Linked DNA regions of Homo sapiens: region 2 is linked to region 1. The links are contacts of gene promoters, found by promoter capture Hi-C in blood cells and fetal thymus (Javierre and others, 2016). All regions are on one chromosome and are shown on one strand. The core of a region is centred on a gene start or on the middle of the fragment in contact, and the rest is flanking DNA. Distances in the headings are between cores, read along the strand shown. Region 1 holds the start of ATP6V1H (ATPase H+ transporting V1 subunit H). Region 2 holds the start of BPNT2 (3'(2'), 5'-bisphosphate nucleotidase 2).

Region 1 (5,564 bases), core at 2,369-4,868:
CCAGGTCTCTTGCAAGGCTGCAGTGAAGGTGTTGGCTGCTAACATTTCAAAGCTCAGCTGGGCTCACTTTCAGGCTCACCCATGCAGTTGTCCACATTTGGTTCTTTGAAGCCTGTTGGACTAAGGGCTTCAATTTTCTACTAGTTGTTCACTTGGGGCTATTCTTAGCTTGGTCACATCAGCCTCTTTATGGTTAACAACACAGCACCTTGCTTCATCAGAGTGAGCAAGTGAGAAGAACCTGGGATAATGCAAGCAAGGCAGCTTGCATTGTAACCTGATCTCAGAAGTGACATCCCTTTACTTTTGCCATTTTCTGGTCCTTATAGGAACATCAGTAGATCTAGCCCACACTCAAGAAGAGAGGATTTCACAAGGATATGAGTCATTGGGAGGTGGTGATCATTAAGAGCCATTTCAGAAGCTGTCTACCACATGGACCATATTTTTAAAATGTCAAATTGTGGAGGTTGTCCTTATGGGGCCGATGGTGCAATGCAATGAAATTAACTTACCTGAAAAATCTGAAGCTTGGTTGCCATGAGTATTCAGGACACTGGTATGGAGTGTAAGTGAAAACCAGCATGATTGATGATAGATGTGCTTTGGCAATACCAAAGCAATCAGAAGTTGTTAGGACAGTTGGTTAGAGCACTTTGTGAAGGGGTCATGACGTCACTACTCAGTGTTACCATTAGGCCAAACTAGGCCAGCTTCTTGCAAATGCCTATTGTTCCCAAGGAGACTGTGTGAAAGAATGGAAAAACCATTCTTCCATTAAACTAATAATTTATTCAGTCAGCTATAAAAACTTCTCAAAGTCCTTGTGTAACTGAAGGTAGGCTGGCAGCATAATCTTCACTTGGGGGTGGTAAGTTTTCATGACAAATATTTTAGAATAGGATTTTCTTTGACTAGAACTCTTCTACTTCTGTGGGCAAATATAAGTTCAATTCATACTTGGAAAGAAAAGATTGGAAATGATGGTGTTTATAGCATTCCATATATTTCAGACAGAAGAAATTCCTTTGAAACGTCATATATTTTCTACCTTCTGATGATTCCTAAGTGGTAGATTCCTAGTTTACATCTCCAAACATGTAATCCTATTCTAGTGAAGAATTGAACATTAACTTAATAAATACATTATTAATATTATTTTCTCCTGTCCATATAGATTCATCTAACTTCCCCTTATGTCATTTCTAAATAACAAATCTGAAGCTCAATTTCAAAGAAATTACAAAGTAGCTCAAAGGTTATCTTTCTTATGTCATAATACAGCAGTCCCCAACCCTTTTGGTACCAGGGGCCAGTTTCGAGGAAGACAATTCTTCCACAGACAGGGTGGGAGGTGATGGGGCTGGTTTCAGGATGACACTGTTCCACCTCAGCTCATCAGGCATTAGATTCTCATACAGAGTGTGCAACCTAGATCCCTTGCAATGTGCAGTTCACGATAGGGTTCATGCTTCTGTGAAAATCTACTACCGCTGCTGATCTGACAGGAGGCAGAGTTTAGGCGGTAATGGGGCTTGCCCGCCGCTCACCTCCTGCTGTGCAGCCGGGTTCCTAACAGGCCATGGACCACACCAGTCTGTGGCCCAGGGTATGGGGACCCCAGGTATGTTATATAATTAGGTAACTGAGATCACCGCTATGGTCTGTGTCTCCCCAAAATTCCTGTGTTGAAATCCTAACTCCCAAGGTGATGATATTAGGAGGTGGGACCTTTGGGAAATGATCAGGTCATGAGGGTGGAGCTCTCATGAATGAAATTAATGTCCTTATGAAAGAGACCCCAGAGAGCTCTCTCACCTCTCCACCATGTGAAGCTACAATGAGAAGACAGCAGTTTGCAACCTGGGACAATCCTTCCCAGAACCTCACCATGATAGCACCCCAATTCTGAACTTTCAACCTCCAGAACTGTGAGAAAATGACTTTCTGTTGTTTATAAGCCACCCAGTCTACAGCACTGTTACAGGAGCCTGAATGGACCAAGAAAAATCTCCGATAGAAGTGTTACAGAAATAATGTTAAGAGAGATAATGCCGGGAGTACCTGCCTCTTCTCTTCTCCCTACTCCAGGCAAATTGTCTGGTAATGTTGTGATGCTCGGAGAACGCCAGCCCAGGTGCCTGTGAAGCAGTCCCCTCTGCTCACTGCACTGTTCCTGATTTTGTTCCATAACTTTGTGCCTCTAGGAAAAGAGGAGAGCCTCCCGAAATCTGATGAGACTCGCTGTATCACGCCAGTCTGTGGCTTAGGTGATACAGAAAGGAAATGCGAAGATCAGGCCTCACTGCCAGCTTTGCTCAGTTACACAGAAAACATGCTGTTTCAGCTTTTGGGAGTTTCTTAGTACACGATCGGTTTCTTTTTCTCTTTTATGAAAGTTTTTCCCCTTAGATTTGCTTTCAAAACAACAGACTTTCACTTCTGGCTAAGACAGAATGAGTGACCTAGTACAATCTTTGACACTGTTATTATATATCTTTATTCATAATCAATGCATGATTTTGATTATTCTGACTTTAATTTTACGAGTAAAAATGGGTTGGTTATAAATCCCTTTCAAAGAATTTTTTTTTTTTCTTTTTGAGACGGAGTTTTGCTTTTTCTGCCCAGGCTGGAGTACAATGGTGCGGTCTTGGCTCACTGCAACCTCTGCCTCCTGGGTTCAAGTGATTTTCCTACCTCAGCCTCCCAAGCAGCTGGGATTACAGGCATGCGCCACCACACCCAGCTAATTTTTTGTATTTTTAGTAGAGATGGGGTTTCACCATGTTGGTCAGCTGGTCTCGAACTCCAGACCTCAGGTGATCCACTGGCCTCGGCCTCCCAAAGTGCTGGGATTACAGGAGTGAGCCACCGCGCCCGGCCCCTTTCATTGCTTTTTAAGGAAAACATGCTATCATATATACTTCACCTCCAGGGCAGTACATTCTTACTTTAAGGCAAAGACAGTTGCTGAGGCCTGGACTAGGGGAAAATTTGGGCTCCAGATGGGACTGTTGGATAAAATACCAGACGTCCTGTAAATGTGAATTTTAGATAAACAACGAATAACTTTTTAGTATAAAAGTAAATACTGCAATGGAATTTATTATTTGCTAAATGTGCAACCCTAGGTTAAGAGAGCTTTTCAGACCCACTTCTCAGCCCGAGTTTTCTATTTAAAATCAGAATAAGAACGCCTGCTTCATGGAGCTGTTAAATCCAAATGGAAATTAATTTGAAAGCGCGAAATCAAACTTTTCAAAAGAATGACGGTTACAATAAGAGCGTTTTGGCCTCTGCTAGCTGCTTCCGGGCGGAGGTCCTCGGCCTCCCCTAGGCGAGGCACTAGGTCTGGGGGCGGCGGGTCTTAGCGTGCCCGCCACGCTCGCCGCCTCCCACCTGCCCTGGCTGGCTGGGGCCCGACCCTTGCGTCGCTCCGGGGCCCAAGTTACGGACTCGGGAATCCAGTTGTCCGCACCGAACAAGCCCCGCCGCAGCGCCCGCCCCTCCTCTTGCTGCTTTGGAGTCTCCCGGCTTCCGCCTTCCGCAGCAGTCACGTGCCTCCGATCACGTGACCGGCGCCTCTGTCATTCTACTGCGGCCGCCCTGGCTTCCTTCTACCTGTGCGGCCCTCAACGTCTCCTTGGTGCGGGACCCGCTTCACTTTCGGCTCCCGGAGTCTCCCTCCACTGCTCAGACCTCTGGACCTGACAGGAGACGCCTACTTGGCTCTGACGCGGCGCCCCAGCCCGGCTGTGTCCCCGGCGCCCCGGACCACCCTCCCTGCCGGCTTTGGGTGCGTTGTGGGGTCCCGAGGATTCGCGAGGTAAGGCCGCCCTCGCGTTGTTTGGTCTCAGGCTGCAGACCAGGTCAGGCGACTCTTGCAGTTTCTCCAGCTTGCCTGGTGCGTGCTGGTGTCTCGCCGCTTGGTCCTCTCCTGTTCTTCGGCCCCCGGTTGCCAGATTGCTTTTCTTCCAGGCCTCAACCAGGTTTATTAAGCGAAATTCTGGAGCCTTTCTCGCAGGGGGAAGAAACGTCAGGGGCGGGCAGGAGAGTGGAGGGGGAGGGGTAAAAAGTATACCTTCTCCAGGACTGGGCCACGGCCCTGGATCGCTGGGGGTGCGAGTAGTTCAGGGACTTAGGTAATTGTCTAGAGACACCTTGAGCTACGCCAGGACGGGCCGCTGAGGCTGAGCCTCCTTGGCTGCAGAGTTCCAGCCTGGCCCAGTTGAAGCCTGTTTTTTCCTGGGCCCTGTCGTTCGCGCTGCCCAGGGTTGTTTATACAGCAAATCTTCAGATACAGAGATTAAGTTCCAAATTGATTAAGATCGTTGGAAACCCGGAATATAATTTTGGGTAGGATTTTAACTTCTTTGTGGCCATGGCCGTGAATTTATGTTTTGCAAGTGGCAACCTGTATTTTGCTTTGTGTTAAAATCAGTCGTTTGTATCTGGAAGTTTAGGAGTGAGAATTACATAGAATTTCATTATTGTAGGTTCTTGTCGTCCAGCCAGACCGCCATTGTTGGCTTACCTAAATTGTAATATGTATTTGTTCTAAAACTTTCTCTCCGAATTTTGATTTTGCAAATACTATGAATTTTGTTTGAAAAGGAAAGCACTGTCTTCTAAGAAATTATGTTCCCACTTTGTGTATTTTAATTTGAGTAATTTTCGAAAGGACTTAGAATTTTTAATGTGCCACTTCAAAATGATGCTTAGTAAATGTTTATAAAACTAGCCTTATCCGTACTATTCATATTCTTATTGTTTCTCTATGAGAAAAGTTAACCACAATTGTATAAATTTACAATTTTTCCCATATTTATACCTATTCTATTTAATCATGATTTCTGATTTCAGTATATTAGGTGATTGCTTTAAAAATCTTACTGCAGTGTTAGTGCCAATAATGAAAAAAATTTTTCTAGAAAAGCAAAAGCCTAAAGAACTCTTTTATGGAGCAGTGGACAATATTTGAAATATAATGATACTTTCAGACTTAGGACATTTAATATTTGAGTTGAATGCCTGGGGAGATTAAAGTGATCACGATATTCATAATCATAATATTAATAGTTGTAAAAAAAAGAAACACCTCGTATTCTGTTTTTACCTTGCATCAAAATTGAAGATTTGTTGAAAGACATTCAAGATTACGAAGTTTAGATGACCAAAATGGATATCCGAGGTGCTGTGGATGCTGCTGTCCCCACCAATATTATTGCTGCCAAGGCTGCAGAAGTTCGTGCAAACAAAGTCAACTGGCAATCCTATCTTCAGTAAGTACCAATTTGCTGTGAATCATGGACAGTCATATGCTTTTGCATCAGACTTTTTCATGGTCATGCTTCTATGAGAGAAATACAGGGAAAATACTGAAAAATGTGGAAGAAACACTTCCTCTTCAGAATAATTAGCTGTCTTAGGGAGTTAAGTGTAGTGGGGTGGAAACAGCTTGGCGCCCTAGTGGGGAAGCAGAGCGGCTTATGGTGCTTTTGACCTTCTCTGGCTGCCTGGGGAAGTACTTTTGGAATAAGTGGGAAACATAGGAGGAATGT
Region 2 (5,883 bases), core at 3,363-5,862, 3.1 Mb before region 1:
TTTGTATTTTTAGTACAGACGGGGTTTCACCGTGTTAGCCAGGATGGTCTCGATCTCCTGACCTCGTGATCCACTCACCTCGGCCTCCCAAAGTGCTGGGATTACAGGCATGAGCCACCGCGCCCGGCCTAAAAGTTAACACATTTAATTGTTTATTTCAAAATCTTGGGGAAAACAATTTTAAGAATAGATGTAGATTATGTTTTAGGAACAGACTGTCCACAATCTTAATATGAAAGCCATATAATTTTCATGTGTATGTATGCATTGTTTGAAGCTTCTGACAACTTGATACTAAAAAAACAAGTTTCTTTCAATCAAATTCCTATAAAGGTTTTCTGACATCACTGTACCACATGTAATTAATCAAATGTTTTCTTATTGTCATAACTTCTTTTGTCGATTAAATGTTATCTGTTAATACCCATTCTCTATGATCAATTATCACTTGAGTGCTAGAACGCCTCTTGGAGCTACAATCTTTCAAGTGACTCCTTCTTTCCACATACCTTGGCATTTTCTCCCTCAAGTCTTAAATCCCTTTTTTGCAGTAGAAATGCTCCAGAGCTTTTAGTATTTCCCTCAGTGGTATACTGTGTATACTGCCACACTGAATGTGACCCTATATTATTCTCCAATATCCTTGGAAAATATTATTCCGTTTATTTTGAGAAATCTCAGACTTCCCAATGATGCTTTTAATATTGACATGATTACTATCCAACTCATCTTTTTGCTGCTGTCATAGTGTAGGTTGGGGTGGTTCTGTTTAACTTAAACCTTTATATTTCAACCCTGATGTTTATCTTTATCCCTGGGATGGGTTTTGAGAATTACTCTGTGACATTCACTTTTAGATATTTGAAAGCAGCTTTGCTTCATTGCAAAGTTACTCTCAAAAGCTGACAAGAAAGGCAATGCTAGTTCTTTAAGTTCTGGTGCTGTCAATACTCTAGGGATTGTTCTTTCACTGATTTGTATTTGTACTTGATTTTGTGCTGTGATTCTGGCAGGGAAATCACAGTGCTTTTGTTGTATGTGTATAATCTGGCAGTGCTTTTGTTGTATGTGTATAATCACATGCAAATTCTAGGGATGCCCTGAACTCTAAGTAAGCGGTAAAGGTCAGGCTCTACATGACTTGCTTAGCAATGGATGTTTAGAAGTTTGGTATACTTGCAGTTTTTCAGGTGGTTAATTCTAAAGTCCACTTAAAACCAATGCTGTTTTGCTATGAACAGTAAAACAGGCTACATTTTAAGTTGATTTATATAGATATTTTAACATTTAAGAACAATACTATACATCTTAATATTCACTTTTAAGATTAAAGATAAACTCATGAATACTTATAAAGTATTCACTATCATTCTAGCTAAGATCGGTGTTATAGTAGAAGGTAGTTATTTCTGTCAAAATACTTCGAGAGCCTACGCTGACTCAAAGATTACATGTTCTAGACTGACCATCTCCGGATAACCTCTATTTTAAGTGGACTCTGTCAAGCAATTCCTCTTCTTAAGCTCTGGTAGGAGAGCCAGGCTCGAGTACCCTTGGAAATGAGAGAAGCCTGGTTTGCTTTCTTTCATTATGAAAAACCCGGATCAAGGCATGTTTTTCAGCTGCTTCGAGGATGGTTTATTCTGGCAGGTGGAGGAGAGAAACTCTATACACACATAAGCATTTAGGGCACGACAAAGATGTCAACAGAATGAAGAGCCAAGTACAATTCTTCCCCTCACCGCCCAGTTCCCCGTCCTGCCGGGAAGAGCGCGGAGAAGCGACTTAAAGGTACAGGCTGTCTACACCCCCGCTGGCTAAAAAAGCTTGCAAATCAATCTTTTAAAATGGTTTATTGTGTTTTCCTCCATTCCTCAATAATCTGAGAGTGATGAGAAGACTAGACTGTTACTGTGGGTTTATTACAGCCAGCCATAGTCGTACAATGGGATATTTAATTTAAACACCCACAAGGCACTCAGCACAGCACACTGTCCTGTGCGGATTGCTGCTCGCCACTTCCAGGAATACCTTCCCACCCAGACCAAGGAAGGCAGCTCAGTCCAGCGCCTCCTGTCCCGCCCCGCCCCGCCCCAAGGGGAGGTGCCCAGCTCTCCCCGCCCCTCGCCCTCGCCCTCGCCCCGCCCCGTCGCGTAACCCGGATACACACCCACGCTCCCCTTTCACCTCGCGGCCGTAGGCTAACGTGGAAGTCGGACCAGCCGGCCGGCGGAAGAACCTAGAGCGCGCTGCCTGGCGAGTCAGGCGCGCGGGGCGGCGTTGGTGGTCTTCGCGGCGCAACTCGGCCTTTCCTGGGAGGGAGTGATGGGGCGCACCGGGGCCGGGGAGCGGGCGCCAGTGTAGCCCGCGCGGCGCCTGGCCCGGAGCGCGGCGGCTGCGGCGGCGGCGGCGGCGGGCGCTGGAGGCCTGTGAGAGCCGCAGCCCGGAGCGCCCGGCTTCCCACGCCATGGCCCCCATGGGCATCCGCCTTTCCCCACTGGGGGTGGCAGTGTTTTGCCTGCTGGGGCTCGGCGTGCTCTACCACCTCTACTCGGGCTTCTTGGCCGGCCGCTTCAGCCTCTTCGGCCTGGGCGGCGAGCCTGGCGGCGGCGCGGCGGGGCCCGCGGCCGCGGCCGATGGGGGCACCGTGGACTTGCGCGAGATGCTGGCTGTGTCAGTGCTGGCCGCAGTCCGCGGCGGCGACGAGGTGAGGCGCGTCCGCGAGAGCAACGTCCTCCACGAGAAGTCCAAGGGGAAGACGCGCGAGGGAGCCGAGGACAAGATGACCAGCGGCGACGTGCTGTCCAACCGCAAGATGTTCTACCTGCTCAAGACCGCCTTCCCCAGCGTCCAGGTGGGAGCCCACGGGCGGAGCGCCCACTCGAGCCGGGTAGCGCGTCTCGGCCCGTCGACTCTTAACAGTATGGGATGTGGAGCTTCTGGTTCCATTTTGTAGATGTGGAAATTGAGACGCAGAAGTTAACGTGCACAAGGTCAGACAGACAGCAGAGGAGCTGGGTGAGGTTGCACGTAGTCTGACTCAGGGCCCGTGCCCTTTTGGCTCGTCCTGGGTCGGGTGTGCGCCGTGTGTACCTGGGATCAGAAGGCCTTGAAACGAAAAGGCTGACAAAGTTAATTGCACCCGCAGCTTCAGGCTCCTCTGTAGAATTAAGGGGTTGGCTAAAATCCACCAAGACTCTCTATCCTTCCTTGATTTCATCCCTAGAAGGGTCGAAACTGGAGTACACATTTTCTGGGTGGCCTGCCAGTAGCCAGCTGAAAGACCGAGTCTTGTTGCAGAGCTGTTAGTGTGCGGGGCATTTGTGTGTGCGTGTGTGCGCTCGCGGGAGTCGGGGTGGGGGGGTGGGGGATGAGTATGCTCATTTCGCTGTCTTTTTGTCAGGACGCTCTAAAGTTTATAGTTTGCGGGCCCTTTAAGGAGGTACTTAGAAATATACCAGCTGTTGGTCCTACCTGGCCCTTGATTAAAGATCCATATTTACTCCAGAGAATAAGAATTAAATAACATTTGGCTTTTCTTTGGGTAGGTTTCTGGGAAGGGAGTTGACATTTTCTTAAGGAAATCCAGACATTTTGGATTTGTTATTAATACTTTTTGAATTCATCATTTCACTGGAGCTGCTATTGAGTTGAATAAAGCATATTTAAAATTTGCAGTTCCAGAAACTGCAAATTTTGTTGAGGAAGAGCTCAGCATAGCGTAGCAGCACCTTATTAACGTATATCTTAACTCACCTAACTGTAGTTTTGGCTACTGGGAAGAAAAATTGTCTTCACTGGAATTTTATTAGATAAACAGTGATGTGCAAACCCAGGCTTCTTTGGAAGGTGACTGACCTTTTACTGCTGATCTTGAAAGAGTTAGGAGAATATTGTCATTGTTTAGTTATGTATTTTGCATAAGGCTTCTTCCAGTCTATCATAATATTGCTTTGGTTTTGTTTTTTATTCTCCTCTCTTCCTCCCTTTTCTTTCGTCTTTTTCTTTTTCCAGTGGAAAGGAACATTGTATTTCCTAACATGAGCTACTGGATACCAGATGTAATTAACGTTAGAATTTTTTTTTTCAAATTTCTACTTAAAACACAGAATATTTCCACTTTTTCTTCTTCCCTACTCTGTTTTTATCATCACAAATAATACTTAAATTTTTTTGCATCTAGATGTAAGGTGTGTTTATGAAATATTTTACCCCCTTTCCAAAACATACGTGTTTCCTTCCCCAAGAATTTATAGAGGAAACAGGAGATTCAGAGAAGTTGCTATTTAATGGTTATAACAGTACTAATAATAACCATTTATTGAATATATTTTACATGCCCAAATACTGGCTACACAGGACTTCATTTGATCCTTAACAGCAACTTTAAGAAGTAAATTTTATTTCTGCCTACTATACAAACGGGAAATCTGAGGCTCGTGACACTCCAGCTTATATGAACTATCCCACATTTTAGCTAGATTTTTAGAAGGCTATTTAAAACTTATAATTGTAGAAGCTTAAAAGCAGTAATAGTGAAATACAGCAAGCAGAGTTGATTTTTCTTTTTTTAAGTAAAAACAAAAGTATCTTAAATGTTGAAAACACATCTGTATGTGTGTGCATTCTCATTTATTAGCAAACAATAAGGGAATGGCTGCCAAGGGCAGTGAGCTGCATTTTATTAACATAAAAGCTAAGCTTTTGGAATTGCAGATGTTGAAGTCTCTGGCTTAATATAAAACAACTTCTTGTTTTCTTGTGACTATTTGAATGTTTGCATGTGCTTCTGTAGTATTCATGTTGGGTCATGACTGAAGGAATAGAAGAGGTTTGTGATCATTTATACAGTGTCAAAGTAGGGATGGTGTCATGTTGAGCGATCTCCTTATACCCCTGTGTTATAGGCTAGAGGCCAAATATTGTAGCCAACTAAGTGGAGAATCAACCTAAAAGGAGTCTTTCTCCTTTTTTGCCTTCCCCTCTCCTAATGCCCAGAAGTACAGTCTTAAATCCCTGGTTAATTTTGAAGCCTCACCCCAAATTTCTTGGTAAGAAACTTAAATTATATCCCACTTAGTTTACTTCCTAGTGGAAAAAGACCATTGAGAAGCAACAGATACTTCTTTCTTTTATCCTAGTGCCCTATGTAAATGTAGAAAGATCTGTTTTCTCCCACTACTTTCCTATGTAGAGTCTGAAGTCTGAGCTTTCGTATGTAATGTTCACTCCTCAGTAAAAGGATATACCAGGGGTTATCCTAGAGCACTCAACTGGAGACAGTTTTGTCCCCTAACTGACATTTGACAACGTCGGAAGACATTTTTGATTGTCACAACCAGGGGTGGGATGCTACTGGCATCTAGTAGGTAGAGGGTAAACATCCTATAATGCACAGGACAGCCCCCTATGACGAAGAATTATCTGCTCCATTTGTCAATTGATGCCCAAGTTGAGGAATCATACTCCAGAGAAGTGAGTGCTATCCTAACAAAACTCAGATTTCACCTAGGCTCCCTGGATTTCCTTTTGTCTTCAGTTTTCTTCAGGTTAGAGATCCCAGAGAGTCCTCTGGGCAGCTAGTCTCCTCTTCCTAAACACTTTGGCAATGCTTGACTTCATTGTGTCAAAGTAATAGTAACTCCAGCCATTTGTATGGCACTGTCTCTTTATCCTTGCAGGTAACAATGAAAATGAAGGCTGAAGATACTTTTGTGGAGTGGGTTTGCAGCCACAGAACAGACAAACTGAGATTTATAGTTTTGATTTAATGTACAGGGGACTGTCTGTTTGAGGGGCTCCTGTCCTCAACTTGATTTGTTCAAAGTTTTGACAATGACTTATTTGAAGGTAAAGCATGGTACTCCAAGCTGGTAGCAGCCA

What was found. The method cuts DNA at HindIII sites, captures the fragments that hold promoters and counts their contacts. A CHiCAGO score of 5 or more calls a contact.
Region 2: a fragment that was not itself captured here is called in contact with the fragment with the promoter of ATP6V1H in region 1 in 2 of 17 cell types (total B cells and non-activated CD4 T cells); the score reaches 7.0 in total B cells.

Annotation. Positions count from the first base shown.
Region 1 is chr8:53,841,299-53,846,862 of GRCh38, reverse strand. It overlaps ATP6V1H (ATPase H+ transporting V1 subunit H), which reads left to right and starts at 3,618. Exons shown (of 14, transcript NM_015941.4): 1 at 3,618-3,829; 2 at 5,138-5,285. The coding sequence starts at 5,173. RefSeq lists enhancers at 2,183-2,232, 3,530-3,669 and a silencer at 3,310-3,459. The HindIII fragment of the contact is 7,596 bases long and covers 533-5,564 here.
Region 2 is chr8:56,990,170-56,996,052 of GRCh38, reverse strand. BPNT2 (3'(2'), 5'-bisphosphate nucleotidase 2) reads left to right here and starts at 2,186. Exons shown (of 5, transcript NM_017813.5): 1 at 2,186-2,854. The coding sequence starts at 2,468. RefSeq lists a silencer at 2,070-2,629. The HindIII fragment of the contact is 182 bases long and covers 4,522-4,703 here.